Regions from separate parts of the Homo sapiens genome. Here regions 1, 2 and 4 are each linked to region 3. The links are contacts of gene promoters, found by promoter capture Hi-C in blood cells and fetal thymus (Javierre and others, 2016). All regions are on one chromosome and are shown on one strand. The core of a region is centred on a gene start or on the middle of the fragment in contact, and the rest is flanking DNA. Distances in the headings are between cores, read along the strand shown. Region 1 overlaps PTS (6-pyruvoyltetrahydropterin synthase). Region 2 overlaps LINC02762 (long intergenic non-protein coding RNA 2762). Region 3 holds the start of TTC12 (tetratricopeptide repeat domain 12). Region 4 holds the start of PLET1 (placenta expressed transcript 1).

What was found. Contacts are between HindIII fragments. The CHiCAGO score rates a contact against its expected background, and 5 or more counts as called.
Region 1: a contact is called between a fragment that was not itself captured here and the fragment with the promoter of TTC12 in region 3, in 11 of 17 cell types (total B cells, activated CD4 T cells, total CD8 T cells and 8 more). The highest score is 22.4, in total B cells.
Region 2: a fragment that was not itself captured here is called in contact with the fragment with the promoter of TTC12 in region 3 in 11 of 17 cell types (naive B cells, monocytes, total B cells and 8 more); the score reaches 13.2 in naive B cells.
Region 4: the fragment with the promoter of PLET1 here is called in contact with the fragment with the promoter of TTC12 in region 3 in 4 of 17 cell types (naive B cells, naive CD8 T cells, total B cells and 1 more); the score reaches 6.3 in naive B cells.

Annotation. Positions count from the first base shown.
Region 1 is chr11:112,226,738-112,229,743 of GRCh38, forward strand. PTS (6-pyruvoyltetrahydropterin synthase) reads left to right here. Exons shown (of 6, transcript NM_000317.3): 2 at 1,857-1,936. Among named protein-coding and RNA genes, the nearest start is that of PTS, 1.8 kb to the left of the region's middle. RefSeq lists a silencer at 329-623. The HindIII fragment of the contact is 1,163 bases long and covers 1,171-2,333 here.
Region 2 is chr11:112,285,674-112,289,009 of GRCh38, forward strand. The region is part of intron 1 of LINC02762 (long intergenic non-protein coding RNA 2762); the gene reads left to right. Among named protein-coding and RNA genes, the nearest start is that of LINC02762, 17 kb to the left of the region's middle. The HindIII fragment of the contact is 2,402 bases long and covers 234-2,635 here.
Region 3 is chr11:113,312,845-113,315,855 of GRCh38, forward strand. TTC12 (tetratricopeptide repeat domain 12) reads left to right here and starts at 1,739. Exons shown (of 22, transcript NM_017868.4): 1 at 1,739-1,774. TTC12-DT (TTC12 divergent transcript) reads right to left here and starts at 1,612. Exons shown (of 5, transcript NR_199709.1): 1 at 1,486-1,612. RefSeq lists silencers at 1,550-1,799, 1,823-2,117, 2,010-2,109. The HindIII fragment of the contact is 13,389 bases long and covers 1-3,005 here.
Region 4 is chr11:112,259,137-112,262,143 of GRCh38, forward strand. It overlaps PLET1 (placenta expressed transcript 1), which reads right to left and starts at 1,724. Exons shown (of 4, transcript NM_001145024.1): 1 at 1,270-1,724. The coding sequence starts at 1,453. It overlaps LOC100132686 (a long non-coding RNA gene), which reads left to right and starts at 1,129. Exons shown (of 1, transcript NR_133566.1): 1 at 1,129-2,260. The HindIII fragment of the contact is 13,385 bases long and covers 1-1,845 here.

The DNA of each region.
Region 1 (3,006 bases), core at 502-3,001, 1.1 Mb before region 3:
CTTGATGGTTAACGGAGCCGACTGCGGAGGGCGATGGCCCACGTCTGGGTGCGGGGCCCACACCCGGTTCTGCGACTCGAAGAAACGTCTCTGCCCCTAGGAGTCCCTTGGTGTAGACCACAGGGTTGCTGTGAAACTCAGCAGTGTTAAACTCGCCTATGTTACACAGTACCTGGCGCGGCGTAGACACTCAGTAAATGTTAGCTAATCTTGTATGCCAGGAGCATTGGCCACCATATCTAATGTAATTACAAGGCAAATTTTAGCCCCTTTTTTACCAAAGACTGGATGAACCCAGTCCCTGGTGGTCTAGTGGCTAGGAGAAAAAAAAAAAAAAATGAGCCCAGACGTTCAGTTTCCGAAGCAGCATAGTTGGGATTTGAATCCCGATCATACATACTGCTTGCATGCACTGACGAGTTGATTTTGAGGAATTTTACCACGCACTAACCAGCTCCACCCTCTGGCCCTCCGTATCGTCGTCTGTGAAATGAGGATGACCATCGCTATCTAACAGGATTCATCCCTCCATTCGCTAAACCAGGTTTTGTTTCGTGCTTGTCAGGGCTTGTGCTAGGTAACGGATGCATCAGGGATCTTGTATGGGGTTTCCAATCTGGCCTATTTTGTGGAGGGTACACTGAGAAAATTTTGTGCAAAAGACTTTAGCACTCTAAATACAAGAAGTGGCTGAGCAGGAGAAAGTGGGGGTGTGTTATTCCATTTTGCATTGCCACAAAGGAATACTGAGACTGGTATTTTATAAAGAAAAGAGGTTTATTTGGTTCTGCAGGCTGTACAAGAAGCATGGCACCAGCATCTGCTTCTGTTGAGGCCTCAGGGACCTTCCACTCATGGTGGAAGGCGAAGGGCGAGCAAGCAGGCAACTCACAGGGCAAGTGAGGGAGCAAGAGAGAGGAGAGGAGGTGCCAGGCTTTTTTTAACAACCAGCTCGCCCATTGACTAATAGAGCGAGAACTCACTCATTGCTTCAGGGAGGGCACCAAGCCATTCATAAGGGATCCACTTCCATGAGCCAAACATCTCCCACTAGGCCCCATCTCCAACACTGGGGATCACATTTCAACATGACAATTGGAGGGGACAAACATCCAAACTACATTGGGGGGAATAATAAAGAGGATCTCAAAAAAAAGGGGTTGTATAATAAGCTTAAACACCTGAGGGTGGTAAGGTCTCATAGACGATGCGAAATTGAATGGATGGGTATAAGTATAAACATTAAGCAATTTGTTTTCTGTCTGAGACGACAGCCAAAGATTGTAATTTTAAAAATTCACCTGCTTGGAATATTCCTCAACAGATTGGTAAAGTTCTCATGAGGCAGTAGTTGAGACATAGTATAAAGCAAGATTGCTAAATAGGAGACTTACCAGGTCATGTAATTTTTTTAAATTATTTTTTCTGGATGAGTAGTTTAGCTTCTGAGAGAAATGAGATAGTAAGCCACTTTGCGGATCACCATCTATGTTTATCATTATATGCTGTTATTTCATTCAGCACTTGCCTGTTACATTGTAGGCACTCAGTAATGTTGAATTGAAAAGTGGAAGGCCCATGAGCAGATCAGTTGCTGTGGAACAAGGGGGTTGAAGTTAAGGTTTGTTTGTGCTAATTTGTATGGTACAATCTTCTAATTAGGGAATATGCCATGGTTTGTGACGTATACGTAAGTAATAAAATCAACATGATTTCTGACTCTCCCTTTGGTGAGCTAAAGTAATAAATTGGGAAACTTTTCAAAGATCAGTACAAATAATAAATATAAGGAACAGAGAAGGGGGTTTGAATGTGATACTTGTGTCATGCTGACTTTTTTTTTTTTTTTTGGTCAGTAAATTTCTAAGTGATGAAGAAAACTTGAAACTGTTTGGGAAATGCAACAATCCAAATGGCCATGGGCACAATTATAAAGGTGAGAGAAAAACTGATGACATTTCAGCCCTTCAATAAGGATGAAAGAGTATTCAGCAAATGTAGACATAAAGAATGGGAAAACTTACGGACACAGTGTGAATGCTTTGAGCCTTGAATGAGAAATTAAATGGGAGTTCAGAATGAAAGGATCTGTTGTCTTGGTTGGGTGTGTGTTAAGTTTTACCTTGCAATGTCAACTCTTACAAACAGTCCAAAACAATGAATGGTTTAAAGCATTTTTCTTTGTCCTAGAGTACACAACAAGTTTCTTTCTGATTAGGTATGGCCAAGGCTAATGTTAAAATTAGATTTTATTCTTTGAGTAAATAATGACTGACAAAAGGGGAATGTTGCCTAGGAATGTAATGTATGGCAGAAAAATAGGTTTGGTCTAAAGCTTTGCCAGCAGTGTTCGAAGAAAGTAGGTAATTTGTTCAAGGATAAGAGACTTGATTCTTTGAGGTACAGCCTGCCTTAAAAAACAGGTACATAAGTCGTAGAGTATAAAACAGTATGTGGTGTGGTGGCATAAAAAAAAACAGACAAGGTGTCAGGAGATTAGGATTACTGGTTTAGCTACAGCCTCTTCCTTAATCTATGGTATCTCAGTCTCAGTGTACTCACTTACATGTAATATCTAATGGTATTTGTACAGAACTAAAATACATAAATTCATAAAAGTTATTAATGTGTAAAGCACTGATAAAGTTTTTTTTTGTTGTTGTTGTTTTTTTTTTTGAGATGGAGTTCCACTCTTTTTGCCCAGGCTGGAATGGTGTGATCTCCCGTCACTACAACCTCCACCTCCCAGGTTCGAGCGATTCTCCAGCCTCAGCCTCCCGAGTAGCTGAGATTACAGGCGCCCGCCACTATGCCTGGCTAATTTTTGTATTTTTAGTAGAGATGGGGTTTCACCATGTTGGCCAGGCTGCTCTCAAACTCCAGACCTCAGGTGATCTGCCCGCCTCGGCCTCCCGAAGTGCTGGGATTACAGGCTTGAGCCACCACGCCTGGCCAAGATTTTTCAAATGCTTCTCACAAGCACTTTTTAATTTACAAAGCATTACT
Region 2 (3,336 bases), core at 185-2,684, 1.0 Mb before region 3:
CCACCATGCTCAGCCTGTTCTCTGTCTCTTGTATCTCCCCATGACCTTCAGTGTTCAGACACTGGGTCACCTCTCATTTCCTAAATGTCTGTTCTCTTTCTTGCCTCTCCAAGTTCAGCTGCAGAGCAGCTGCATTCCTCAGTAGGCAGTGGGAGAGACTCTGTCTTTCTCCTGCGCTGCAGCCCGTCTCATCACAGGCTTCAGGTGGTCCCTTTGGGCTCCCACAGCAGTCAAGCTTCCTGCGCATGATTAAAGGGATGCTGGTGCTTCTGAAATAAAGCACCAGGGGCAGAGGCTGATGGCTCAAGCCCAATCCCCAGGTCTCCCAGAGCTGGCTTCCCTGGTAGGCAATCACAGACTTTGCAGGGAGGAGCCATCTCCTTTGTTCTTATGTGTTGCTTCTTTCTTGCTACCCAGGCTCATGTTAATTGCTTTTCTGACATTTTTTCTGGCAAGTGATTTTTGCTGCTGCTTGTGGAGGTGACATGGCAAGCCCACAAGGGAGCGATAACAATGACCTAATGCAGAGCCGAGGAGGCTGGGGCTCCTATACGGGGTAGAAGATAATGAAGTTGAGTCATGAACAATTTGTTCTAAATGGTCAGTGAGATAGGCTCAGAGCCTTCAGAAATGAGAGTAGCCTGTGGCCAAGGCTTTCCTGAGAAGTTGTTCCCTCGGCCTTTGTAGTTCTGGCAGACCACCCTTCCTGGTGCAGGGACCTCAGGATGTGGGAACCTGTGCACAGGGCTAGATGATTCCTAAGGTCTTCCAAGAGCTTGTGAATGTCGGCAGCACAGAGACTAGAACTATGATGATCCTATCTTCCCAGCTACCTGTCAGAACACGTAGTCTGGTAATCCAGCAACTCCATTAGCCCAGATATTTATTCCACTTACTCTGTGCCAGGCATGGTGTTAGCTGGAGACATGACAGTAAATGGGTCACAGTTCCTACCTCAGTTCAGCTCACAGCCCGGATGGGAGACAGACCCACACTTAGATAATTATAATGCAGCAGGGCGAGTACCAGGATCCAGTGATGTATGGGGGTTATTCTGAGCACAGAGGAGAGGTCTCAGGGGCCAGGACAGGCTTCCTGGAGGCAGCACCAACACTACTGAGTCTTGAATAAGCAGAAGTTATAGCTGGGCCAGGCCAAGGGGAGTATAGGGGTGAGGAGGGAAGAGCTGATTTCTTCTCCTGCCTGAACCACCTGTTTAAAAGCAACATGGGGAAACAAAGCCATATGAAGAGGGGAAGTTGACAAGCACAAGTCCCTTGACTCTACAGAACAAATTTTAATCTCCCTTTCTTTGTACGAGGGTCTCCAACTCAGTGTCCAGCCACCCAAGCTCTAGCCTGTGGGGACCCTTCATAACTCCTCCCAGGGGGTCAAGGCAACCCAGCATTTCCTGGGGGATGCAGATGAGTGTGGCCTAATAATTCTTGCTCCAATCAGCGACTGTCTAAAATGTGGGCAACCTGAGCACCCAGTGCCATCCAGAGCTCAGGGTAGGTGCTCATCATGTCCTTGATTGCAGCTGCATGTGTGTTTGCCTCTTACCTGTCATGATGATCAACAGGAGCTCGGCAGTTGTAATCAGCAACGAGAGTTACACATGTCATTAGGTTTACAGAGTAACATGGGCCAGGCCAGAAGATATGTCTGCAAGAGGTCTCCTTGGTATGGCCAGCTATGGCCAGAGGAATAATAAAGGCAAGGCCTTCCCAGGTGGGCACCTCTGCTATTTTCTACTGGAGGCAGGGGCTGAGTCCTCGAGTGGGGAAATGCCGATGTGGCCAGTTTCTCTAAGGACTCTGGGGCTCTGTTGGCCCCTTGGCTACATTTCTTGACTTTGCCATTGTTATTATTAGCTTTTCTAGGTGGATAATGGGATAATGGGAGGCAATGTGGTTAACATTTTTTTTAAAAAAAATAAATGTTGGCCGGGTGCGGTAGCTCATGCCTGTAATCCCAGCACTTTGGGAGGCCAAGGCCAGTGGATTACCTGAGGTCAGGAGTTTGAGACTAGCCTGGCCAGCATGATGAAACCCTGTATCTACTAAAAATACAAAAATTAGCCAATGTAGTGGCTCATGCCTGTAGTCCCAGCCACTTGGGAGGCTGAGGCAGGAGAATCGCTTGAACCCAGGAGGTGGAGGTTGCAGTGAGCCGAGGTTGTGCCACTGCACTTCAGCCTGGGTGACAAGGGTGAAACTCCGTCTTAAAAAAAAATGTATTGTGTGTATCGAAGGTATCCAACATGATGTTAATGTGATTTTATGAAAAGCAGCCTTTGCAGTCAAGTAGACATGAACTTGAATCTTAGCTCTGCCACTTCAGCTGTGCAGCTTTGAACACTTAACTTCTTTCAATGTGAGTTTCTCATCTATTAAATGGGGTTAATCATGTCTATTTGTATCTATTTCCAAAGAGTGTTGTGAAGATCCAAGGGGATAGCACGTGTAAAGCACATTCTTCTTACCTTTTATCTCCCTGAGCTGAGTGTAGAGGCTGCAGTCATTCATTGAACAATTGTTTATTGTCTACTTATTGCTAACCATTGTTGCGGGTTCTGCGGAAACAGTAATGAACAAAAGTCTCTGTTCTCATCAAGTTCACATTCTGGTGGGGAAGCTTGAAAATAAGTAAGTAAACTAAGCAGGATAACTTCAGATAGTGATAAAAGCTATACAGAAAAGGAAACAGGCCCATAGGATAGAAGTGATTTGGTGGGAGGCCTGAAGAGGCTTTAGGGAGCACAGTGGTCTTTGAACCAAGACCTGGAGGCCAAGAAGGAGCTGGGCCTGCGGAGACCTGAGGAAGAGCATTCCAGGCAGAGAGAAGAGCAAGGGCACAAAGTGCTGAGGTGGGAAAGCATTTGGCAAGAAAGAAGATGCTTGCAGGAGGAGCACTGTGAACCCTGGGGAGTGTGGGATGAGGAGAGGAGCAGGAGTGAGTTCCATGCATGTTCCCAAACTCTGTGCTGAGGTGTTCTTGGAGCTGCTGTGGATTCAGAGGGGCTCTTTGAGATATTTTAAAGGCCAAAGGCAACACTCAACTTTTGTTGGGCTCCATGCAAACTACTAAGTAGTGCAGGATAGCTTGAAGACTCAATATTAGATTGCCCTACAGTTTTTTTTTTTTTTCCTTGAGATGGTGTCTCACTCTGTTGCCCAGGCTGGAGTGCAGTGGTGTGATCTTGGCTCACTGCAACCTCCGCCTCCCAGGTTTAAGAGATTCTCCTGCCTCAGCCTCCTGAGTAGCTGAGAATACAGGCACATGCCACCACGCCCAGCTAATTTTTGTATTTTTAGTAGAGATGGGGTTTCTCTA
Region 3 (3,011 bases), core at 489-2,988:
TGCATTAGAGGGGTACCCAAGCAGGATGGTATGTGTACCAATGCATCATAGAGACTTCAGCCAAACAGCTCTTCTGTTCTCTACAGGACACAGGCATGCATCCTATGGGGCCTAGGCCACAAGAGAGTCAACAGGCTGTACTTGGAATCAACACTAGAGCTAGCTGGCCATGCCTGGATCCCTCTCCCCTCTGGCGAATTCCATCTCTAGGGGCTCCTTGTTCCCTGCCAAACAGGTTTCCATAAAGCACTCATTTGCCAAGAAGTTCCGGGTGTTTCTGACCGTGAACTTAAGCTCAAGTTTCCCCTAAACCTGCTTTTTTTCCATTGGTAACCCTGCACATAATACTCTGAGATTTTGTTTAGAAAAACAGACTGAAATTTCTTTAGGGCTGTGTGCATGTATTTGGGGCATGAATGAATGTGCCTATTAGCTCATTCTGTTCTAAACCCTATGATTCCCCGGATGTCACGTGCCACCTGTTCCTACTGACTAGGTACCAGGCACTGAAACCACCATTGCAAAATTATAACTGAGATGGTGAAAGGGATCTGACCTAACCGACTCCATCTTGCTTCTCATCTCCAAGCTGTCTTTGTTCATTCCTAGGCATAGGCCAAACTAACTTTGGGGGGAACTTAGTTTATAGTGTAGCTTTGAAACAAAGACAATACCAGCCCTTTCCCAAACAAACCCCCTTCTTGCCCAGGAACTAGACTGCCTTTTCAGGACTAACAAATTAGCCACAAAATTAGAAATTATGGTTTAGGAGTCATGCAGCTAGAGGCTGCAAGATTCTAAACCTCAAATTGCTCCTGGGGATAACATCAACTATTGTAAAACCTAAGATCAGTGCTTAAGATATTTCACAGACACTGCACTCGATGGATCAGCTGGCACCACCCAGATGAATAAACTGGCTCATCTGGTCTTATGACCCCCACCTGGCAACTGACTCAGCACAAGAGGACAGCTTTGACTCCCTGTGAGTTCATCTCCTAGCCTACCAATCAGCACTCCCGACTCACTGACCCCTACCCACCAAATTATCCTTAAAAACTCTGATCCCTGAAAGCTAGGGAGACTGATTTGAGTAATAATAAAACTCCGGTCTCCCTCACAGCCAGCTTTGTGTGAATTACTCTTTCTCTATTGCAATTCCCCTGTCTTGATAAATCGACTCTGTTTAGGCAGTGAGCAAGGTGAACCTATTGGGCGGTTACAGCACTTTAACCATAAACCTTATGAGAAAGTGCCATTTCTCCATTTCACAGGTGAGAAAACTGAGGATTAAAAAGGTTACTCAAATAACTTTCCTAAGGATAAATGTGTGAGTCTTCTAACTCACACATTTATCAATGAACAAAACCGGATTCACAAGTACACTGGAGACTTTACATTTTGGGCAAGGATATTAAGCTAACGGGAGTGAGACAACCCTTCTTCAGTAGAAAAAAGGCGAGCAGCAGGCGCTGCTTTAGTTACCAGCACTTTGCTTCCTCCGTCTCCCCGCGCCAGGCATCGGGCATCCCAACCTCGACTTTGGCCTTCAACTTGGCGCGCTCCGGAGCTAGAGCTCTGCGGTAGCGAATCTGATCGCGTGTCCATGCCCGCCCCCTGTCCCGCCTCCTGGCTTTTGACCCCGTCCTTGGTCCCGCCCCGGGCCCTGGCTCCTGGCCCCGCCCTTGGTCCCGCCCCGGGCCCCTGGCTCCTGGCCCCGCCCCAGCCCAGGCAGGTCACTGCGCCATTTCCTGTCCAAAGCTGGGCGAATCAGGTCGGTGCCGCGGGGTACCCCGGAATCCCCCCTGGGAGCTGGTCCTGCACTGGCCTTCAGAGCCGAGCAGAGGACGCTGCTTTGGGCCCCAGAGCATGGGAAGGTCTTGGCTGCGGTCTGGGACGGCTGCGGTCTGGGACCTGCATGGAGGGCCCGGGACTTGCGGACGCCTGGGAGCGGTTGCTGGGCAACAGTGCGTGCGGCCTGGCCTCTTTGCGCCCGGCGGGCAGCGCGCGTCTGGGGCAGGCTCCGCGCGGGGCTCGGGCACAGGTCCCCGCTGCCGCAGCCCTACCGAGTGAAGCACTGAGCGCGGCGCCGCTTCGCCATCACCTGGCTCTGGCCCTCTCACCCTAGCGTAGGGGGGCACTGGCCAGGCAGTGAGGACCCTGAGATCCATGCCCTGGGAGACAGAGGTTGTCTCCTGTCCATGCACCCGCGCGCCTGCCTTCTAACCTTCATACCGTTGGGCAGATTAATTCACTGGACTAGGCCTCTGTTCCGTGGGAGTTGAAAAGATTTGACCTGGAAGAAACCCTAGCGATTATTCAGTTAAGCCGCAACCCCACCCCCTGTTTTATATAGGTAAGGGTGCTTCACGGTGAGGACTCGTCGCGTGCCTGGTGCTTTACATCAGTCCCCAGAATAGTCCTCGTAGTTTCTCTCTTACTGTTCCCATAGTATGGGTGAGGACTCTGAGGCTCGGAGAGGTTGTGAATTTAGCCAGAATCACACAGCTTGTAACTGGTGGAGATGAGGACACTGAGACTCGATTAAATCACTCGTAGTTTGTTCGTGGCAGATTACGTGTTAGAAGCGTGTTACACTACTATGAAACCTGGCCATAAATGAGAATCACCTGGAAAGTGTTTAAAATCTATATTCGTGTCTGGGCAATGTCCCGGGTTTACTGACTTGAAATCTCGGGCTACGGCTGAGGAAGCTGTATATTTAACAATCTTCCCGATGATTTTTATGATCTGTGGATGAACCACTGAGTACTGCTGGGTACACCACGGGGCCTTCTCGCACAAAAACAACTGTAAAATAATATCTGAGGTACCTAGAGCAGAAGAGACGCTGGTGAGCATGGTAACATTATGTTCTAATCCCTTCAGTCAATTTGTACCCTTTCTTCACTCTTCAGAAACAAGCCAAAGGCAGATTTTAAACAAGTATGGACATTTAGATGCAAATTGCCCCAAGTTTGTTACCTGTCACACATCCACATTTAAGCTTC
Region 4 (3,007 bases), core at 474-2,973, 1.1 Mb before region 3:
CTGTAAAATGATAACAACATCTACTTCTAAAACATGCCCAGCACATCGTAAGAAGGGTTAGCTCTCACTACTATAAGGAAGAGTATATAGTGGTTAAAGGCAGGGTCTCTGAAGCTGGAATGCTGGTTCATATCTTACCTTCACCATTTAAGTAGCTCCGGGACCTGAGCAAGAGTCACTTAGCATCTCTGTCTCTGTTTCTCATCTACAAAATGGGAATGATAATGATATCTCCCTAATAGGTCACTATTACATGTTAAACACCATAGGAAGTGTTATTATTATGAAATGAATTAGAAAGCATATTCCTTGACTTTTAGGTTTGGCTGATTCAAAAAGGGCTATATAAAAAATATCTACTGGACACCTCTAAGAAAAGCATTGGATTAAGAATGAACAGACTAAGATTCAAGAGCCAGTTCTATGACTTACTAGAAGGGAGACTCTGGGCAGGTCATTTAATTTCCCTTGGTCTCAGGCTTTTCATACATAAAGTGGGTTAGTAATACTTCCCCTGTGTTGTTTATTAGATTTTTTTCACCCACGGACTAAATGCAGTACACAATTATCCCCAGAGGCATCATATTGTCAAATAGATATGAAAAGATTACACACTGGAGGCTGGGTACAGTGGCTCACACCTGTAATTCCAGCACTTTGGGTGACTGAGGTGGGTGGATCACTTGAAGCCAGGAGTTCGAGACCAGCCTGGTCAACATGGAGAAGCCCCATCTCTACTAAAATACAAAAAATTAGCCAGGCGTGGTGGTGTGCACCTGTAATCCCAGCTACTTGGGAGGCTGAGGTACAAGAATTGCTTGAACCCAGGAGGCGGAGGTTGCAGTGAGCTGAAATTGTACCATTACACTCCAGCCTGGGTGACAAAGTGAGACTCTGTCTCCAGAAAAACAAAAACAAAAAGAGAAAAGATTATACACTGGAATGCAATGATTATCCCTTAAAATGATAAAACTGCCCATTTTATTTAAGTCAGAGAATCTACCCCAAGTGTGCTCTTGCTGGGACTCAGTGAATCTGGGGTTGGGGCTTTCTCGCTCCTGTGGCTTGAGTTCACAAGGAATTTGCAGAAATAGCCCCCCAGCCCACTCCCTTAATTCTCATTCTTTGTCTTCCTTCCCTTGCTTCCCATTTGGTTCAGAAGACACATGTTTTGTATAATTGAGAGTAGCGATAGAGGGGTGTGTTCTGAAATTCTGGTTAATTTCCCTCAGGGAACAAAGGACAGCAGAGAGCATGGCTTCTACTCACCAGAATAGACTGCATTGCTTTCGTAGATATGTGAACTGGCCTTGATGTCTAGGGTTATGGTGTAGTATTCATCAAAGGTGAAGCAGGTGCTACTGTACCTTATAAAGGTGGCAGAAGAAAGCTGCAGACTGAGGCACAGAAACATCCCCAGTGGCTGCAGCAGCATGTCATGGAAGACTGCCATGGTCTCAGTCTGTTTGGAAAGTGCTAGGCCTGGAATTGGGTGAAACTGACAACTCACCTCTTGTTTATATGCCAGGGCTTCTGGGTGAAGTCATACATGCAGATCTTCTCCCTGCCCCTTCTGAATATACATTGGATTCTGGAATTTGGCCCAAGACATCACCAGGAATGAATCACCAGTCACCATTACCTGTCACCGATGATTTTGCAAATTGCAGTTTTGCTCAAGAAAGGGAATGTCCTGAATATGGTTTTCTTTTACGCCTGTCATTTCAGCATCTGCTGTTTGAAGAAAGCCATTGAGAAGATGTGAATACCAGCAAGTGAAATTCAGAGTTGTGTAAAATGTAAAATAAACCCCTGAGGAATGAGATGTCTATAGGGGGTTTGAAAAGCTTGGACGAATCCCTGGGAATCTAAAAAGCCATGTGCATGTGCAGGGCTACACACATTCCCAGGAAAGACCTGAGGAGGCCCTAATTACTCACCTCTGGCCGACCTTGAGGCTCTGCACAAGTAAGAAGTAAAGGCTAAGGTAGAGCTGTAAACTGCCTATCTGATCACTGAAGGCATTCCCCAAAACACACATGCAGAAGTGCTTAGCAAAGACTGGGAGACTTGTTGGTTCCAGAGTTATTAGTTAAAGAAATTTTTTAAAAATCTATTTATTAGCTGGTCAATAAGCAAACAGAACAGAGACTTTGGTGGTTACACATGATAAAGAATACAGACTTCACATAATTAATTTAGGAAAGTCATAAAACAAACAGCAGCAACAACAACAATAAAAAAGAATAACAAACAGCAACAAAAACAAACTCAGGGAGGAGAAGGGAGTCTGGTGTCCAAAGTTGTCACATTTGTGTGTGTGTGTGTGTGTGTGTGTGTGTGTGTATGTATGTATTTATTTATTTTTTTGAGACACAGTCTCACTATTGCCCAGGCTGGAGTGAAGTGGTGCAATCATAGCTCACTGCAGCCTCAAATTCTTGGGCTTAAGTGATCCTCCTGCTGCAGCTTCCCAAGTAGCTGGGGCTATAGGCACGTGTCATCACACCTGGTTAATTTTTATAGTTTTTGTAGAGTCTTGCTATGTTGTCCAGACTGTTATTGAACTCCTGGGCATAAGCAATCCTCCTGCCTCAGCCTCCCAAAGTGCTGGGATTATGGGCATAAGTCACTTTGCTTGGCTTCATGTTTTTTAAATGTTCAGTTTTCAAGAAAAATTATAAGATATACAAATAAACAAGAAAGTATGGCTTATACAGAAGAAAAAAACATCCCAGGTAAACAGAAACTGTCCCTGAGGAAGCCCACACGCTGAACTTGACATAGACGTTAACTCAGCTTTATAAATACGTTCAAAGAACTAGAAAAAATCATGTCTAAAGAATTAAAGGAAAGTATGAGATTGATTTTGGTGATTGTCTCACCAAGTAAAGAATAGTAATAAAGAGATTAAAATGATAAAAAGAGCCAAATAGAAATTCTGCAATGGAAAAGTACAATAACTACGATTTTAAAAAGTCACCAGAAGAACTCAACAGCATATTTG